2 separate regions of the Homo sapiens genome follow, and region 1 is linked to region 2. The links are contacts of gene promoters, found by promoter capture Hi-C in blood cells and fetal thymus (Javierre and others, 2016). All regions are on one chromosome and are shown on one strand. The core of a region is centred on a gene start or on the middle of the fragment in contact, and the rest is flanking DNA. Distances in the headings are between cores, read along the strand shown. Region 1 holds the start of LOC105372270 (a long non-coding RNA gene). Region 2 holds the start of OR7E24 (olfactory receptor family 7 subfamily E member 24).

Region 1 (4,059 bases), core at 1,355-3,854, 460 kb after region 2:
CAAGTCACTAAAGTAGGACAAAAGGTTGCTACGTTCCTATTATTTTACGGTTATTATAAGTGTACTGAAACTCTAAAAAAGAACTTATTTGTATAATGTTATTCTATACAAAGTATGTAGCCCAGGAAATGACCAACCTGATGTGTGTTATGACCCATCTGAGCCTCCCATGACCACAGTTTTTAAAATAAGAGTAAGAACTGAGGACTGGTGGGTGCTCATAAACGATACGAGTAAAATGTTAGCCACAAAAAAAAAAGAGGTGCCTGAACGAGTCACCTTGAAATTCGACGCCTGTGCTGTCATTAATAGTAATAAGTTAAAAATAGGATGTGGTTCTCTTAATTAAGAAAGAGGCTATATGACAGAAAATAAGTATGTTTATCATAAATTAAGACTGTGTAAAAATAAATGTAGATACTGGTCTTGTGTCATTTAGGCTACTTGGATAAAAAATGAAAAAATGCAGTCCACCTTCACCAAGGGAAAAGTGGCCATTCCTGTACCAGTGGTCCGTATAACCCCTTAGAACTAGTAATAACAAACCCCTTTAATCCTCGCTAGAAAAAAGGGGAATGTGTAACCCTAGAAATTGATGGAGCTGGACTGGATCTTCAAGTAAATATCGTGGTTTGAGGAAAAGTTTATAAACCCTCTCCTGAGCCAGTATTTCAAACCTTCTATGATGAACTGAATGTGCCAGTACCAGAAATTCCAGGAAAAACAAGAAATTTGTTTTTGCAATTAGCCGAGCATATAGCCCAGTCTCTCAATGTCCCTTCATGTTATGTATTAGCACAAGTGTACTGTATGAATCATTATCAATCTATTGCACAGGAAGACATAAGTAGCAAAAATAAGAGTGAGAATTCCCACTAATAAAAAGTGAGAGTCTCAAAGCCGGGAAATGAGAGAAGACAGACCCTCTCATATTGTTTTATGTTGTTTTATACTCAGAAAAAGAAAGAAAAGCAAAACTAAAGGCAGGTAGCCTGGTGCCTAGGAACCAGACCCTAAACCAGGCCTAAGCCTGGTAGTTAAAGATCGACCCTTGACCTAACCAGTTATGTTATCTATGGATTCCAGACATTGTATGGAAAGGCATTGTAAAACTTCCCGGTCGGTTCTGTTTCACTCTGAGCACCGGTGCATGCAGCCCCTGTCACGTACCCCCTGCTTGCTCAATCGACCACGACCTTCTCACATGGACCCGCTTAGAGTTGGGAGCCCTTAAAAGGGACAGGAATTGCTCACTCGGGGAGCTCGGCTCTTGAGACAGGAGTCCTGCCGATGCTCCCGGCTGAATAAACCTCTTCCTTCTTTAGCTCCGTGTCTGCGGAGTTTTGTCTGTGGCTTGTCCTGCTACATCACCAGGGCTGGAGTGCAGTGGCATGATCTCAGCTCGCTGCAACTTCCGCCTCTCGGGTGCAAGCGATTCTCCTGCCTCAGCCTCCCAAGTAGCTGGGATTACAGGTGGCCACCACTAAGCCCAGATAATTTTTTGTATTTTTAGTAGAGATGGGGTTTCACCATGTTGGCCAGGCTGGTCTTGAACTCCTGACCTTGTGATTTGCCCATCTCGGCCTTCCAAAGTGCTGGGATTATATATATTCCTGTAGGAGATAGAAGCTTCAAAAAATAAAAACCTACAGCCAAGCCAATAAAATAGAGCACATATCTCACCACAACTGCAAAGACAACTATGCTGACATTACTACTTTTAGTTGGTGTTGTGCTGGAGGTTAAAATCCATTCAGTAAAGCAAGAAAATATATATTTATATAACCTAATGACTGAAAGGGAAAAATAAGTCATTACTTACAGATTATCTCACTGCCTATGTGGAAAGGGAAAAGAGTCATATTAAGTACTTTGGACTGAACAATGACCCCAAAATTCATTTGTTGAAGCCCCAAACCCCAATGTGAGTGTATGTCAAAATAGGATCTTTAGGGAGTATCATTAAATGAGGTCGAGGGACACAAGGGGCTGTGGGGAGGGAGAGCGAGAGTGAGAGCACGACCCGTTTCTTGGTCTCCATCATGTGAAGACATGAGGAATTAGGCATTTACATGCCAGGAAGAGAGCTCTCACCAGAAGTGGGCCATGCTGGCACTCTGATCTCAGATTTTCAGCCTCCAGAAACATGCGAATATAAATGTTAAAAACAAGTAGTTTAGATAGTTCCTCTTCAAAGGGTTTCATTTTGTTACAAAGTGTTCCTCTGCAAGAGGTCTTTACTTCCTTGTACTGTCTGTCCTGAAGTCTTATTTCCCTGTTGCTTAAATTAACCTTGCCCACCAGTCTATCAGCCCCTCCCATCCTGCTGTGCTCAGGCATGCCCACCAAGAAGTCACCCCCTCCCTGCTGTAACAGCCTTCCCTGCCACAACTGTTCTTCCCTGTACTCTTCAAATTAGCTAACTGCATTCAGTTTAGACTGTGTGGTTCAACCCCAACCAATAGGGGAATGACACATCAACTAAGGCCAAGTGCATTAGGGATTAAAAACCCCTGCTGTCTTTTGTCTGATGAGCTCTTGCCATTGCTCCATCCACGAGACACATGCTTCTGTAGAAGTAAATTTGACTTTCTGAGAAAATTTATGTTCGACTGCTATTTCTTTTGCAGCACAAATAGTATGTTTCTAACAATTTGGTGGCCTGTACAAGGACCCCATTCTCCTCCCAGAGGGTTTTCCATCCTCTCCTGTGAGGACACATGCCCCACTGCCTCATTGCAGTAGCCTCAGGGGTAAGGAATGGAGACCCCCCTAGTGTGATGAATAAACCCGGACTCTCAGCAACATGGGAAGAAAAGACCTACAAATACCGTGGTGACCAGATAACTCTGTCCACAGACCAAGGTAAGAAATGCTGCAGGAGCTGGCAAAGTATTTCCTAGGTGGTCATGACCAAGCTAAGAAAAGCCACAGGGGCAGTGAAATATTCCTTGGTGAGGACACACCAAGGCATGAAAAACTGCGGGGGTGGTGAAGTATTCCTTGGAAGGGGTATCTTGGAAGTTAATAGTGTATGAATAAGATGCACAATTGCATGTGAAATGAGTGTTAAGTCTAGATCTGCAGTTCTGTGGTCACCTCATATGGCTTAGGGTGACCCACCTGTAAAGGAGTCCAGGATGGGGGTTTATACCAACCCACCAATGCCAAGAGGGACCTAACATGGCTAGAGAAGGATGAAGTGAAAGAAGAGGCAAAAAATTCCCAGTAGGGGGGATTGAGCCTCACAGGAACCTCCAGTAGCAAGGAAGGCAAAAAATTTCCATTAGGGGAAATTGAGCCTCACCCCATATTGCAAGAAATTTCCAGTAGGGGAAATTGAGACTTACCCCAAAAGGCAAGAAATCTCCAGTAGGGGAGATTGAGCCTCACCCTAAAACCATCAAGATGGGAAATACCCCAAACAAGGTAAGAAAAAGGATAAAGCTAGCAACAATAATATTCCCCTGATAGTCCCCTAGGCCTAATGTTAAAATATTAGAAGAATAATGAAAAGACCTTAGAGAAATGATAATTAAAAGAATTAGAGAATCTGTACCCTGTATCCAAAACATTACAAAAGCTTTCAATACACAACAAGAAAAAAATAAATGACCTATAAAATTCTGAAAAAAACTCAAAGAGCAAATGGAGAAATATGCAAATCTAGAATAGAAGACCCCCTCAGATGAGGGATGTTAAAGCTTCATTTTGTTACTAATCGTTGGCCAGATATTAACAAAATATTACAAAAAATAGAGAACCAGAAATACAGACCTATAGAAGAGTTTCTTTAAAAAGCCCAAAAAAACACCAGTGCAGTGGCTCATGCCTGAAATCTCAGCACTTTGGGAGGCCAAGGCAGGCAGATCACCCGAGGTCAGGAGTTCAAGACCAGCCTAACCAAAATGGAGAAACCCCATCTCTACTAAAGTTACAAAATTACCCAGGCATGGTGGCACTTGCTTGTAATCCCAACTACTTGGGAGGCTGAGGCAGGAGAATCACTTGAACCCAGGAGGCAGAAGTTGCAGGAGCTGAGATCACACCACTGCACTC
Region 2 (4,165 bases), core at 824-3,323:
AACAATGAAGAAGTTTAGTGCCAGAGACTCAAAGACCAACCATTTAATTCCAAATCCTGCCCATGCCCCTGATCTGTGTGACAAGGGGTGAGATGTCTGTGTCTCTGAGGCTCAACACTATCATCTGAGTTGATTTCTGGTAGATCCCACTGCAGTGAGCAATGATTAAACAGACCGTGTGTGCTCCTGTGTGATCCCTATGTGATGGATGCATAAAGTGAAGTGTATTCTACATGTTTTCTATTAATATTCCAAGGTTAATCTCCATACCATTGAACTGAAATATCCAGGAACCTAGCTATGGTTCCCAATGTCTCTGACAGGACATTTAATTTTTGCCCTTATATAAGTAAGTACTGAGGATTGTGAGAGGAATATTTGAGTTTCTTTCAACTCTGATTTCCCAGAGCCTGTATCTTGCTTGGTACAGAGGAGACACCAAAAATTAGAATCTCTGTTACATATTGAATAGACCCTTCCTTAGTTCACAAAACTGGCTGTGATCAGTGTGACTTCAACACACTCACTGCTTTCCTATCTGTACTTTCATTCCTTCCAGGAATGTGTCACAAACTAGGCAGAAGGTAAAATAGCACTTTTTTGTGTCTATATTATGGACACATAATAATAGCATCTACAACATTCAATTACTTAAAGACCATGGCAGAGATTTTTACAGGCATAAAAAAAGAGAAAAGGATGCAGAAGGAAGTGGGGGCAGGTAAACCTTATTGTTTAGATCAAGATACATTTTAGAGTTTCACATGATTCCAGCCACAACGAAAGTAATGCCAAAGTATTTTAACATTACCTTGGCCAGGCACAGTGGCTCACACCTGTAATCCCAGCACTTTGAAAGGCAGAGGTGGGCAGATTACTTGAGGTCAGAAGTTTGAGACCAGCCTGGCCAACATGGTGAAACTCCATCTCTACTAAAAATACAAAAATCAGCTGTGCATGGTGGGGCGTGCGCCTGTAGTCCCAGCTACTCGGGAAGCTGAGGCATAAGAATCGCTTGAACCCAGGAGGCGGAGGCTGCAGTGAGCTGAGATCATGCCACTGCATTCCAGCCTGGTGACAGGCTCAAAACTTCGAGACTCAGGTCTTAAAAAAAAAAATTAAAAGCATTTTAACATTATATTAATGTTCTGTCATCCACAGGTACGTTGCACACTATCAACATCTTTGCTATCAGTGATGTCCTGGTAATTATGTGCATTTAACTAAACCTTCCTTTTAATTACTTATTGATTTAATAGTCAAGGTCTCACTCTGCCACTCTGCCTAGAGTGCGGTGGTATGATCATGGTTCAGTGCAGCCTCGAACTCCAGGGCTCAAGCGATTCTCCTGACTCAGCCTCCTGAGTAGCTGGGACTACAGGGCGGCGCCACCATGCCTGTCTAATTTTTTAGTTTTTTGTAAAGATGGGGTTTTGCTGTGTTTTCCAGGCCGGTCTTAAACTCACATCCTCAAGCAATCCTCCTGCCTTGGCCTCCCAAAGTGCTAGGATTCCAGGTGTGAGCCACCACCCTGGGCTACTTTCTTATCAAAACTCCAAGTCCACCTAAGGCAAGGACAGGAATTATAATTAAGTGAATTTTAAAAGAAAGCCCACATATTTGAGTGAGTACTTACTTCCATGAAGAATGAAAGTCAGAAAACGTAAGAATGATGGAAACCGTAGAATATAACTGGTATGTAAAGATGTTTTCTGGCTATGAACTATGAACTTTCATTGAGTTTTGAGACAACATGATCCTAGATCTCATTGAGTGTTGATAAATATCCTCAATCAATGGAATTTGTAGAATTGTATTAGAATAAAACAAGACATAGCTGACTCCTTCTTAGTATCCTTTCAATGGATTTAATCTTTTTCTTAAAGGGGCAAGAATATTTTTGTTGTATATTTTTTCCTGATAAATTAGGCTATATTTTACCGTGATCATGGATTTCTAAAATCTCTAATGTTTTTGCTCTCCTAACATTCTTCAATAGACTGTCTCTAAGTTAAGTGTATACAGAAAGAGGTGAATAACACAAAATCAATTATGAAGTAACTCTAAGGAAATTGGGTTTGTCACAACTGAGAACTATTGCTGAGGGTGTATAATCCTATGTGAAAACTTAATTTCTTAATTGCTTGTATCCAAAATATAGACACAGTGCTAGATGCTGGTTTACTTATGTCCTATTTTCCAATTCTCTTTTTTTTTTTCCTCAAAAGGTGTCCGAGCTACACAGAGCCACAGAATCTCACAGGTGTCTCAGAATTCCTCCTCCTGGGACTCTCAGAGGATCCAGAACTGCAGCCGGTCCTCGCTGGGCTGTTCCTGTCCATGTACCTGGTCACGGTGCTGGGGAACCTGCTCATCATCCTGGCTGTCAGCTCTGACTCCCACCTCCACACCCCCATGTACTTCTTCCTCTCCAACCTGTCCTTGGCTGACATCGGTTTCACCTCCACCACGGTCCCCAAGATGATTGTGGACATGCAAACTCACAGCAGAGTCATCTCCTATGAAGGCTGCCTGACTCAGATGTCTTTTTTTGTCCTTTTTGCATGTATGGATGACATGCTCCTGAGTGTGATGGCCTATGACCGGTTTGTGGCCATCTGTCACCCCCTGCACTACCGAATCATCATGAACCCACGCCTCTGTGGCTTCTTAATCTTGTTGTCTTTTTTTATTAGTCTTTTGGACTCCCAGTTGCACAATTTGATTATGTTACAGCTCACCTGCTTCAAGGATGTGGACATTTCTAATTTCTTCTGTGACCCTTCTCAACTCCTCCACCTTAGGTGTTCCGACACCTTCATCAATGAAATGGTCATATATTTCATGGGTGCCATATTTGGCTGTCTCCCTATCTCAGGGATCCTTTTCTCTTACTATAAAATTGTTTCCCCCATTCTGAGAGTTCCAACATCAGATGGGAAGTATAAAGCCTTCTCCACCTGTGGCTCTCACCTGGCAGTTGTTTGCTTATTTTATGGAACAGGGCTTGTAGGGTACCTCAGTTCAGCTGTGTTACCATCCCCCAGGAAGAGTATGGTGGCTTCAGTGATGTACACTGTGGTCACCCCCATGCTGAACCCCTTCATCTACAGCCTGAGGAACAAGGACATTCAAAGTGCCCTGTGCAGGCTGCATGGCAGAATCATCAAATCTCATCATCTCCATCCTTTTTGTTATATGGGATAGAAATGGCAGCAAAATTTAACACCTAGGCCTGCAAATTCTGCCTCCTTGGTCACATTATTTTGGTTGCTTGATGGCTTTCATTCCTCTCTGGGTTTCGTATGTGAATATTGCTTGCTTTGTTTTGTCTTTAATTGCAATGGGTGAGTATTCTGGTATCCTTTGTTCATCATACACATCATGAATGATTCCAATATACCTAGACAGCCTCCTTTAGTATCTGTGCAATGACCTTGATATCCAGGTGCAATCACAATCTTTTCTGATAGACTTGAAATCCTCACTTAACTTTGTCAAGAGGTTTTTGGAAACTGCAACTTTAAAAAAAAAGCGCAGCAGGTCCTGAAATAAGTTCATTTTGTTCAATGTTGTTTAGTTTTAATTTTGGTGAGAAATGAATAAATTGGTTTCATGGTTCATCGTTTTGCTTGAATTGTGGTTTCTAATTTTCTGTGGAGGATGTTAAGTGAGGACTTATCGTACTTCGTATTTACCTCCCTTTCTACAGTTCCTGTGTAATTTCTGTCCAAATCGCATCTAGGAAATCACTTTAGGCAGCTTACGTATGATGATGTCTATCAATGGTCCTCACATTTGGTTTTATTGAAATCACCTGGGGACCTCACAAATACTGAGGCCTGGGTGTCATTACCAAAATTTACTTGGACCTGTGTGGGTTGAGGAATTTTAAAAGCACCAGAAATAGTTCAGGTGATGATGTTTCTAAAGGGACGGAGCTACAATGGGTAAGTTACAAAAGAATGTAGCACCAGGCAACGTGATTCATTCAAATATCTTCTTAAAACGCATTATTGTTCAGCACTGTAGAAATTTACATTATGGCCGGGCGCGGTGGCTCACACCTGTAATCCCAATACTTTGGGAGGCTGAGGTGGGCAGATCGCCTGAGGTCAGGAGTTGGAGTCCAGCCTGGACAACATAGTGAAACCCCATCTTTACT

The links. Contacts are between HindIII fragments. The CHiCAGO score rates a contact against its expected background, and 5 or more counts as called.
Region 1: a fragment that was not itself captured here is called in contact with the fragment with the promoter of OR7E24 in region 2 in 3 of 17 cell types (total CD4 T cells, non-activated CD4 T cells and total B cells); the score reaches 5.9 in total CD4 T cells.

The regions. Positions count from the first base shown.
Region 1 is chr19:9,707,128-9,711,186 of GRCh38, forward strand. LOC105372270 (a long non-coding RNA gene) reads left to right here and starts at 2,533. Exons shown (of 2, transcript NR_187774.1): 1 at 2,533-2,865. RefSeq lists a silencer at 1,013-1,213. The HindIII fragment of the contact is 1,954 bases long and covers 1,628-3,581 here.
Region 2 is chr19:9,248,857-9,253,021 of GRCh38, forward strand. It overlaps OR7E24 (olfactory receptor family 7 subfamily E member 24), which reads left to right and starts at 2,074. Exons shown (of 1, transcript NM_001079935.2): 1 at 2,074-3,769. The coding sequence starts at 2,188. The coding sequence ends at 3,207. The HindIII fragment of the contact is 19,830 bases long and covers 1-4,165 here.